2 separate regions of the Homo sapiens genome follow, and region 1 is linked to region 2. The links are contacts of gene promoters, found by promoter capture Hi-C in human tissues and cell types (Jung and others, 2019). All regions are on one chromosome and are shown on one strand. The core of a region is centred on a gene start or on the middle of the fragment in contact, and the rest is flanking DNA. Distances in the headings are between cores, read along the strand shown. Region 1 overlaps MAJIN (membrane anchored junction protein). Region 2 holds the start of BATF2 (basic leucine zipper ATF-like transcription factor 2).

Region 1 (5,713 bases), core at 2,241-4,740, 50 kb before region 2:
CCCTAACTCCCTGCAAAGGGGGCAGAACATATTAAGCAATGGACCATAGGAGCAAATTCAATTTTTCCAGCTCAAGTGACTTACACTGAGAGTCACTGTGATCACCTTAATTTAGGAGAAATCATCTTCCTGGGAACAGGGTCCATGATGGTGAATGTCTTTAGGCCTTGAGTCAAAATCAATAAACATGTTCCTTTTACTAGAGTTTTTTCTAAAGCCAGAATCAGGTTGAAAAGGTAATTATGTTGAGTAAGAAGCTGTGGGTACTGTTCTTGAGGGAGATGATGTGTCAAACTAAGAATAGGAAGATACAAAGGGTAGAGAGCGAGGAAAATGTTCCTTTAATAGTAATTATCTTGGTTGTATAAAGTGTCTTTGTTCTCCAGAGCTTCAAGTACTCCTCATGTACTTTCTCATTTCTTTTTCTTACCCCCTAAAGGATGGGAGGCATAGAAGGGGTTGACTATCTGCCCAAAATCACTCAGTGGGCCAGCTGGCCACAGCACAACTGGGGCCCTGGACTCTGCCCCTGCACACAGAGGCAGAGGTATAAATCCCCAAGGATACACTCCTTCCCCAACTAAATTACAAGCTCCTAGAAAAAAGAAATCAGGGTTTACATATGTTTGTGTGTGCCCCAGCACCCAACACAATGCCTTGTGAGCAGGAGACAGAACAATCCTTTAGAAATGAAAATAACTTCAGTTTTCTACTTAAAAATGTTTTACAGAATTCCTGTGATCTTGAAGGTAGTCTCAAGGCTTTTCATGATACAGTCCATTCGGACTTCTCCAGTAACATTTCTCAGCACTGGACTTTAAGCTACTCTGAGAATCCTTCCCTCCTGGCCACTTTATGCTCCCTTTGTATCCTGTGCTTCCTTCTACCCCTGCACATGGCACATCTATCAGTAATTGTCTGCCTAACTGTACACTGTTGGTGTATCCCTGGTACTTGGCACATAGTAGACACTCAATGAAAATTTGTTGAATGCATTCTGGGCAACATGGCAAAACCCCATCTCTACAAAAAATACAAAAATTAGCCAGGTGTGATGACACACGCCAGTAGTCCTAGCTACTCCAGAGGCTGAAATGAGAGGATCACTTGAGCTTGAGAGGTGGAGGTTGCAGTGAGCTGAGATTGCACCACTGCACTCCAGCCTGGGCAACAGAGTGTGACCCTGTCTCAAAAATGAAAAAAAAATTTGTTGAATGAATGCACATGTAAATGTTTACTCGATAACTGCTCATGTTATGAGTCCTGGGAAGGTGAAGAAAGTGAGTTGTTTGTGTTTGGATACTTAGGGTCACAGCAACTTTGGAGACATAGAGAAAAAAAGGAAGGATCTTTAAGGCATGGATACCAGCTAACAGCTATTTAAAGAGGGGAGGAAAAGAAAAAGGTCACTATTTTAGAGAATATATAGAAAAGAAGTCCTGAAATGGAGGAGGGGTATCAGATATATGAATATCTAAATGGGAAACATACCCCATAAATGAAATCTAATTCCATCAGGGGCCAGCCCTTCACTGCTCTAGAAGTTTTCTCTTACCAGTTATCAGTGCTGATACATGCCTAGCTCATTTGTTAAAACTAGATGTTCCGGCTGGGCTCGGTGGCTCACGCCTGTAATCCCAGCACTTTGGGAGGCCGAGGCGGGTGGATCACGAGGTCAGGAGATCGAGACCATCCTGGCTAACACGGTGAAACCCCGTCTCTACTAAAAAATACAAAAAATTAGCCAGGCGTGGTAGCACACGCCTGTAGTCCCAGCTACTCGGGAGGCTGAGGCAGGAGAATGGCGTGAACCCAGGAGGCAGAGCTTGCAGTGAGCCGAGATCGCACCACTGCACTCCAGCCTGGGCGACAGAGCGAGACTGTGTCTCAAAACAAACAAACAAACAAAAAAACAAAAACTAGATGTTCCTAGACTCAGACCCCAGTGTAGATGAAGGCAAAAAGTTTCCTAAAGGGAAAATTCTATACTGGATCCCACCTCAATTCTATACAGACATATTTTCTTATTTCAACTACAGAGTACAGGTAGCTTTTTAAGCTGAGAAGAGAGGATTTCTTTTTTTTAAGATGGAGTCTCACTCTGTTGCCCAGGCTGGAGTGCAGTGGCACGAACTCAGCTCACTGCAACCTCCGCCTCCTGGGTTCAAGTGATTCTCCTGCCTCAGCCTCCCGAGTAGCTGGGATTACAGGTGCCCACCACCACACTTGGCTAATTTTTTGTATTTTTAGTAGAGACTGGGTCTCACCAGGTTGGCCAGCCTGGTCTTGAACTCCTGACTTCAGGTGATCCGCCTGCCTCAGCCTCCCAAAATGCTGGGATTACAGGCATGAGCCACCGTACCAGGCAAAGAGAGGACTTTTTAACAAAAAAATTCATCGATGCGTGTATTATGCAGCCACTTTGGGATGCGTTGTGGCAAGGGCATAATAGTTGAATGTTATTCTGCAGACAGTGAAACCCAAGAATGAGTTCAGTCAATTCAATCTGCACGAAAAACCAAGATGTGCTGGTAACCGGAATCCTGACTTGTAACAGAACAGGAATAGCTAATAGCCTTGAAGGCTCCATTTTAGTACTAAGGCTCCATTTTAGTACTTACTCTCCTGGTTTCCACAGGGGGCTTCTTTTTGCTGGGGCCTTGGCTGGAAGTCCCTATCTTGGCCCTGAGGTGGGGGGAAAATATGCAGGAAATGTTACTGGCAGAGGCAATATCACTACATTCAAGCAAATGTGGCCCAAATGAATATTTCAGCAGGTTGGCTATTGTTATACTACTCCTGGCTGGCAGAATAAATTGGGTGGCCAAATTTTCTTTGGGTGCTGCTTTACTTCACAGCAGAATCCCAGTTTGAGACACTTAGGGATCTGGGGTTTGAGAAAGTGAAAATGTGATTGACAGCAGGTATCAGATTTTGAAATACTTGACTGTGCATCAAAACCCAGAGAAAGGGAAGATCTGAGACCTCATTTGCATGGAAAATTCAGTCGAATGGAACAAAGCAAAGCTTCATACCTCCAAGTACCCTCACATTCCACCTGGCTTGGAAAGGAGCTCCCTACCTCTTCACCTACATGTGCATCTGGAGAGCATGGGGTCAGCTTCCTAGTGGTCTACCTTATTTCTCCTGTATGTCTAGGGGTCCACAGAGTCCCAGGAAAAGGGTAGCTGTTCTCTGTGGGCCTAGGGTGGAAGCATCTTGGGCTAGGGAACAAACCACACCTTGGATTATTCCAGCAGCATTCTTATTAGCTTTCTAGGGTGCTAATAAGAATGACTGAATTGTCTTACTGACTCATTTTGTTCCTGATAGAGAATTGAAAGAAGAACATAAGTAGCCTCCACAATAAAAATATGTTAGGGATGTACTCAACATTCCCCCTAATATCACAGCACCCCACCCAATGATTGATACATACCCTCTTGCAAACATTTATATTTTAGTCTGGACTGCCTCTTAAGGTTCCAAAAGCTAACTGCTCACTGGGTAAAATAGAATTATATTTTATTTGTTCTTACTCCTTCAAGAGTTTCCCTATGTTTTTGTAAATATTCTGAGACTTCATAAGTCCTGTGCCTTCTGGTGATATTAACATAGTAAGTATTATTGAATGTGCTGAATTCAATTGTTTAGATCGGACTGTATTTCTTCTTAGCCTTCATCTTGAAAAGAAAAATCGTACTTTGCTGAAAAAGGGACTGTGTTCAAATTATATTGTAAATATTAACTTGCTCCCTTTCCTTAGTCCACCCACTGTAATAGGCAGATACTGATGAAGTCCTGCAAAAGAAAGTGACTCGCCCAAGGACAGGATCAACCAACAGTAATAGCTGGCAAAGCCTAACTAGGACGCAGGAGCGAGCCTCTCTCCCCACACCACTGACCTGTCCAGCCCTGGCCTGCTGGGGGAGCTGGGCTCGTCCATGTGTTTTCGTTTCCTCATCACAGCTCCTACTGCTTTCTTCTCAACTGGGACCTTCAGGAGGAAGCAGATGCCTGTGACTCCTCCTTTCCAGAGTTGCTCACAGTTCATGAAGGCACAGTGAAGAAAACTCCCCATCCTTAAACTGCCAAAGGCAACTTTTAACACCAGCTTTGCAAGTAAGAATAGACATTCTGTTAGAGACATGGTCTCAGAAATCTAGCCAAGGGGGAAAATATGGTCTTATGTTTACAATTCTGACTGGACCTGGGCAGCAACTGAGGGCAAAGTAAGGGGAAGAGGCAAGAGCAGGACTTTTTGGAAAAAAGAAGGTGATAAAGGCAATTTTCATTTTGTACAGAAAAGGCAAACTTACCAACCCAAGAGGACTGTCACTTATTGGTTTCCCTACAATAGGAAATTTGAGTGTCATAATAGATTTAAGACTTTTTTTTTTTTTTTTTTGGAGATTAAGTCTCTCTCTGTCACCCAGACTGGAGTGCAGTGGTGCGATCTCGGCTCACTGCAACCTCCGCCTCTTGAGTTCAAGCGATTCTCCTCCCTCAGCCTCCCGAGTAGCTGGGACTACAGGCACATGCCACCACACCTGGCTAATTTTTGTATTTTTAGTAGAGAGAGGGGTTTCACCACGTTGGCCAGGTTGGTCTCAAACTCCTGACCTCAGGTGATCCACCTGCCTTGGCCTCCCAAAGTGAGCCACCAGGCCTAGCCACGATGCTGTTTTACCTGGACTTCTGGCTACTATTTATTTCTTGGAACTGACCCCAGACAAAGACTCCTCATGTGCCCTTCTCCCTTCTACCTGGTACTATTTTCCCTAAAAATAGTGTCTTCAAACTCTCTTCCTCCCCTGTTTCAGAATGATTGTAATCTACAAGCTAGAAAGGGTTTGAAAAGGGAGGGGACGATCCTTACTAAAAAAGAAAAAAGGTAGAACTTCAGCTACCTGTGACAAATGAAAAGGGGAGATATTTTGAGGCAAGGCCTTTGCACCCCTTTTCTTTTCTTTCTTTTTTGAGACAGAGCTAGCTCTGTTGCCCAGGCAGAAGTGCAGTGGTGTGATCTTGGCTCACCAGAACCTCTGCCTCCCAGGTTCAAGCAATTCTCCTCCCTCAGCCTCCAGAGTAGCTGGGACTACAGGCATGCACCACCACCATGTCGGGCTACATCATATATATATATATATATATATATATATATATATATATTTTTTTTTTTTTTTTTTTTTTTTTTTTTTTTTTTCAGATGGCATCTTGCTCTGCCGCCCAGGCTGGAGTGCAGGGGCGTGATCTCAGCTCACTGCAATCTCTGCCTCCCGGGTTCAAGCGATTCTTCTGTTTCAGCTTCCTGAGTAGCTGGGATTAGAGGCGCACACCACCACGCCTGGCTAAATTTATTTTTAGTAGAAATGGGGTTTCACCACGTTGGTCAGGCTGGTCTTGAACTCCTGGCCTCAAGTGATCCTCTTGCCTCGGCCTCCCAAAGTACTGGGATTACAGGCATAAGCCACCATGCCCAGCCTGCACCCCTTTTCAAATCAAAAGGGTAGGTGTTTACTTGTCCCTCAATCAACAAAAACACCCATGGCCTTCAGAGAATAAAAATTTGGGCTAGGCACAGTGGCTCATGCCTGTAATCCCAGTGTTTTGGGAGGCCGAGGTGGGAGGATCGCTTGAGCCCAGGAGTTTGAGACCCAACGGTGCAATATAGTCAGACCCCTGTCTCTACTAAAAAAAAAAAAAAAAAAAT
Region 2 (5,663 bases), core at 1,605-4,104:
AGTGTCTCAGCTGGCCATTGTGTTGGGGTCTCCCTATTTGCCTCCACTTCCTGTCTTCCTTCCCCTAGACTGCGGACACCTTAGGACACGGCTGGGCTGAGGATGACCCTTTGTGTCCCTGGAGCCTGGTGTGTACCTGGCACATGGTTTGTACTCAACACCCAGAACTTTCCAAATGTCAGCCACAGGATCCTTTTCTCATCCCAAACTCAGGTGACCTAGAAAAATACAGGAGTTTGGGGGAGGTCTGCTCAAAGGTGGGATGGAGAAGAGGTGGCTGGGCCAGTAAGTGGAGCCAGAGACAAGGAAAGGGGTTAGGGGTTGTCCACACCTGGTGCAGGGCGTCTGCCTTGTCTGTGTGCTTCTGCCGGCTTCGCTGGGCGGCTGCCCGGTTCTTCTGCTTCTTCAGCTGCCTTTGTTGCTCCTTGGGGTCCTGTGGGGCATGAGGCAGAGGACTCAGGGGGCCCAGCCAGGCCTTGTGCCCTCCGTCCTGGCCCGCCATTTGTAAAGCCAAGTCTTTCCCCTTGAGTCAAGTTCCCAAGGGTCTTTTATCTCCCAGAAGCTCCCTTGGCACCCACACCCCCTATAGCAGGCACTGCACACCTTGTTGGAACGCCAGCCTCACCCCTGTGTCCTGCTCACCGCTCATGTGGAGGGTGGGAGGGCAAGCAGGGAAGATGGGAAGCCTGAGATTCAAACTCAGACAGAGCCAACTTCAAACCCCACATTCTTTTTTCCTTTTTTTTTGAGACAGAGTCTCACTCTGTTGCCCAGGCTGGAGTAGTGCAGCGGCTCTATCTTGGCTCACTGCAAACTCTGACTCCCGGGTTCAAGCAATTCTCCTGCCTCGGCCTCCCAAGTAGCTGGGACTACAGGCACCTGCCACCATTCCTGGCCAATTTTTGTATTTTTAGTAGAGATGGGGTTTCCTCATGTTGGCCAGGCTCATCTCAAACTGGTCTTGAACTCCTGACCTCAGGTGATTCACCAGCCTCGGCCTCCCAAAGTGCTGGGATTACAGGTGTGAGCCACCGTGCCCAGCCGAGCCCCATATTCTTGAACCCAATCGCCCCATCCCTGCAATGGAAGCACCACAGCAGAGGGTTAAAGCCCATGCGGCAGGCAGCCCAGAGCCGGCGTGCCATAAAGCTCAGCTTCCATTCTTCTCATTGCCATGATTTCCACACCAAGGTGTGAACTTTCCTAACTGTGAGCTCCATGAGGGCAGATGTGGTTCTCTGTGCTCATGCCCAGCTCAAGCCCAAAGCAGATATTCACTTACTCAACAAACATGTATAAGCACCTACTATGTTCCAGGCAGTAAGCTAGAGGGACATGATAGCAAACAAAATACACACAAATCCCTGCCCTGAAATTGCTCACATTGTAGTGGGGTGGTAGCGAAGGATGAATGAATGAAGGGTTTATTCCGGTGGAAGAGTGGACTCAAAGGTTGTGACCACCTTGTACCCTGGGATCAATGAAACTTAGATAAAATATTTTACCCAAATGTCCAGAGCTCTGCAAAGTCAGAGCAAGAGGGACTGTTGGAGAGCTCACAGCCCAGCCCCCGCCCCCAAGTCTCTCTGGGGTATGTGTTTTGAGGGTAAGGACCTCAGGCAAGGCCCTGGCCGCCCTGGCTGCAGATTCTGAATGCTCCTAGGCTCCTGCTCCATATGCTCCCTTGGGCCATGTCCACAGCGGGCTCACTGTAGACACTGGGGCACCAAGAAACTAAAGGCTGAGACAGGACCCACGGTGAGTGAAGGGGGCTCCTGTGAGATAAGCAGAGCCTCCAAGGGAAACCATGGCCCAGGGAATTTATTTATTATTTTACTTTATTTTATTTTATTTTATTTTATTGAGACAGAGTCTCTGTCGCCCAGGCTGGAGTGCAGTGGCGTGATCTTGGCTCACTGCGACCTCCGCCTCCCAGGTTCAAGTGATTCTCCTGCCTCAGCCTCCTGAGAAGCTGGGATTACAGGCATGTGCCTCCACCACGCCCAGCTAATTTTTCTATTTTTAATAGAGACGGGGTTTCACCATGTTGGCCAGGATGGTCTCGATCTCCTGACCTCAGGTGATCTGCCCGCCTCAGCCTCCCAAAGTGCTGGGATTACAGGTGTGAGCCACTGAGCCCGGCCTATTTTATTTTATTGAGACAGAGTCTCTCTCTGTCACCCAGGCTGGAGTGCAGTGACATGAGCTCAGCTTACTGCAACCTCCATCTCCCGGGTTCAAGCAACTTTCCTGCCTCAGCCTCTCGAGTAGCTGAGACTACAGACGTGCCCTGCCACACCTGGCTAATTTTTGTATTTCTAGTAGAGACGGGGTTTCGCCATGTTGGCCAGGCTGATCTTGAACTCCTAACCTCATGTTATCTGCCGGCCTCAGACTCCCAAGGGGCTGGGATTACAGGCATGAGCCGGCCTGGGTTATTTGGAGAAGGAAGGAAAGGCTGCTGTGAGTGTAGTGAGGGGGGACCAGGTACGTTAGGAGAGAGCAAGTACACAGAGGCCAAGTTCTAAACCGAAGGCTGGATCTGCAATGTGAGAGCTGGAAACAACTCATTCCAATCCAATCCCGACTTCGGGGGAGGAAAGTGAGACCCAGAGAGGGGCATGCAGAGCCCTCTGTCACACTGCTCAGAGTATAGAGCTGGGACTAGGAGCTCCCGACTGCAGCCCTCACTGCCTGGGCACTGAGGACGGGATCCCAGCTCCCCTTCTCATCCCCGATCCCCAATCCCCTGTACTCACTGTCTGGGTCAGCAGCCCATTGCCCCCACAGAGGTGCATGGCTTAGGCGGGGGAGCAGAGTGGTCCCTCAGCAGCTGTGACTTCCCAGTGCCCTCTGGAGGCCTAAGGAAGTGGCAGCTCTTTAAATCCCCAGTGGCCACTCCGCCCCCAGAGGGCCAAGTTTCAGTTTCTCCTAAAGCCACCAGCTGCTCAGAATCCCTGGCTCAGGCTTGCTCACGTGGCTAGAATTTCCTAACATGAACTGGCCTTCCGGTTGGGCCCCTTCTCTGGAAAGAGGATGGTGGAGGGTGGAGAGGAGGGAAGACCAAAGGCCAGGTATGAGGAGGGTGTTCTAGGGGAGGGAGGACAGGCGGCCAGGGACTGAGATGAGAGAAGAAGCCAGTGGGGACCGATGCTCATGTGGGGTAGAGAGAGCCCTTGAGCTCTGGAATTGGGGGAACTCTGGATCACAGCACACATTGGAGCTGTCCAACTTTCAGAAAGTGACTCTCCTTCTCTGAGCCCTAGTTTTCTCATCTGGAGGATGGTACAACTACCCACTCCCAGGCTCATTGCAGGAACTAAGCCAGATAATACAACCACCCCCAAACCTTCTGAGACCACTATGGAAGCATGTCTGCAAAATTAAGCAATGGCTGTTGGATAGAACAGATGGATACATTACTGTTTTCATACAACAGACCATGAAGCAGTGGAAAGATTGATGTCCAGTGGTTAGGAGCCCAGCTTCCAAGCTATGTGACTTGGGTTCGTAATTTCATCTGTGTTTCTGTTTCCAAATCTGTAAAGTGGGGATAAAAACAATTTTGTTAGGCCAGATGCAGTGGTTCATGCCTGTAATCCAAGTACTCTGGGAGGCCAAGGCAGGAGGATTACTTGAGCTCAGGAGTTTGAGACCAGCCTGGGCAACATAGCAAGACCTTATCTATATTAAAAATAAAAAAAATAACTGGGCATGGTGGCACACACCTGTATTCCCAGTTACTCAGGAGGCTGAGATGAGAGGATCACTTGAGCCCAGGAGTTCAAGGCTGCAGTGAGCTATAATCTTGCCACTGCACTCCAGCCTGGGCAATAGAGCAAGACCTTGTTTCAAAAAAATTAATTAATTAAAAATTAAAAAATAAAGACCTAGCAAACCCTGAAGCCCCGGGCATACCTGCATGCTTGTTGTATCTCTAAGAGGGACACTTGGATGGGGCATCTGTTTGGGGGCCAGAGGGGCCAGTAATTCCTGTCCAAGAACAGCATGCATGCAGTATGTAGAGTCCTATGGTCTGGTGACTAGAGCATCTTGGAGTTGTACCTGAGACCTGAGGGCTCATGGCTGATGATGTGGTATCACAAGAATGGCAAATACAGATATGATCTTCTGATAGGTGATGGTGGCTGGAATGTTGTTTTAAAGAGTTCATGGACACCTCTGAGCTTAGTAAAAAAGAGTACTGCAGTTGATTAGCAATGTCTGCCACACCATGATCGATTAGTGATGCCTGTTATGGGCAGAGGTGTGGAGAGTGCAGTCCCCTGCTATCCCTAGAACCAGGCATAAAACAAGTCTGGGTTTCAGAGACAAAAGACTTGACTCTCCATCCTGGCACTCCACTCACCCAGTTTATCACCTGGAGCCTCAGTGTCTTCAAAGATATGCTGGTGATCACAAAGAAATGATACCTATTTGACAGTTGTTTTGAAGATGGGAAAGAATGAGATGAGAAGAAAGCTCTTGGGATATTGTAAAGTACTATGTGGCAAGGATTCCCCCTCCTGAAATTTGTGGTGTCATATTCTGGATTCTAAGATTATTAATGCAGGCTCCTAATTTAAAATGCCTGGGTGGGTGAGATTGGGCATAAGAGCTGGGCCTTGCCCTCCTAGCTTCTGAGGGGCCTGGGAGCAGAGGCGGAAGTGGGATGCCCCACGCAGTGAGGCCATCCCTGTTTCTCTGAATTATTGTTTCCTGGAAACCAGGAAGGCTGGGGCGTCTTGCCTGAGGCAGGCACCTGAAGGGCTCATTAAGCCAGCCCATGAGCTCCCCTGGGAGGATCTGCAGGCACCTTGTGCATGATGTGACTACGAAGAAACACCCGTGTGTGCTTGTGTGTGTGTGTGTGTGTGTGGAGGGGCTAGGCCTGAGTGTCCCACTCCAGATCCCAGCCCCTGCCCCAGACCCCCAGTCTTTCTTCTCCAGACCCTGGCTTCTGGCAGAGGTGAGACAGCAGGTGTAGCTCTTCCCAGAACACCACAGCCCTGGGAGAAGACCAAAGAAGGCAGCGTTTATGGCTCCCTGAGGAGGCAGCTGGGAGAGGGAGTGGCAGGGAGGGAGGGAGGTAGGGTGGGTAATGTTTAACTAGGAATGGCTGTGGGAGACTTCTCCCAGGCTGGTGGGACCATCCAATCTGACCTCGCCTTAGACGGTGTCTCAGTCAGCTCAGGCTGCTATAATGCAATACCAGAAACTGAGTGGCTTAATGACAGCCTTTTATTTCTCGCAGTTCTGAGGGCTGAGAAATCCAAGAGCAAGGTGCTGGTAGGTTTGGCTCCTGGCAAGGCCTCTTCCTGGCTGGAAGATGGTGGCACTCTTGCCGTATTCTCACACGGTCTCTCTGCCTTCTTATAAAGACACTCATCCCATTGTAGGGTCCCACCCTCACAACCTTATCTAAGCCTAATTACCTCCTGAAGGCCCCACCTCCAAATACCATCTTACCAAGGGTTGGCACTTCAGTGTGTGAGTTTGGGGGGGGAACACAAACTTTCAGTTCATAAAAGAGGGTGAGGAAACTAATGCCCAGAGGGGCAAGGTCACTCCACGGGAGGGGCAGAGCTGCAGGGAGAACACAACCTCTCTCTTCTAGGCCTCAGTCCTGCTCCACACTCTGCTTGGAAAGGCCTGGTCCATTA

The links. Contacts are between HindIII fragments. The study calls those that stand out against the background at their distance.
Region 1: a fragment that was not itself captured here is called in contact with the fragment with the promoter of BATF2 in region 2 in 1 of the 25 tissues and cell types used here (lymphoblastoid cells).

What each region holds. Positions count from the first base shown.
Region 1 is chr11:64,943,469-64,949,181 of GRCh38, forward strand. MAJIN (membrane anchored junction protein) reads right to left here. Exons shown (of 11, transcript NM_001037225.3): 7 at 4,320-4,351; 8 at 3,906-3,997. Among named protein-coding and RNA genes, the nearest start is that of GPHA2, 10 kb to the left of the region's middle. The HindIII fragment of the contact is 4,017 bases long and covers 1,483-5,499 here.
Region 2 is chr11:64,994,117-64,999,779 of GRCh38, forward strand. BATF2 (basic leucine zipper ATF-like transcription factor 2) reads right to left here and starts at 2,855. Exons shown (of 3, transcript NM_138456.4): 1 at 2,760-2,855; 2 at 332-433. The coding sequence starts at 2,798. RefSeq lists an enhancer at 2,254-2,754 and a cis regulatory region at 3,999-5,137. The HindIII fragment of the contact is 29,477 bases long and covers 1-5,663 here.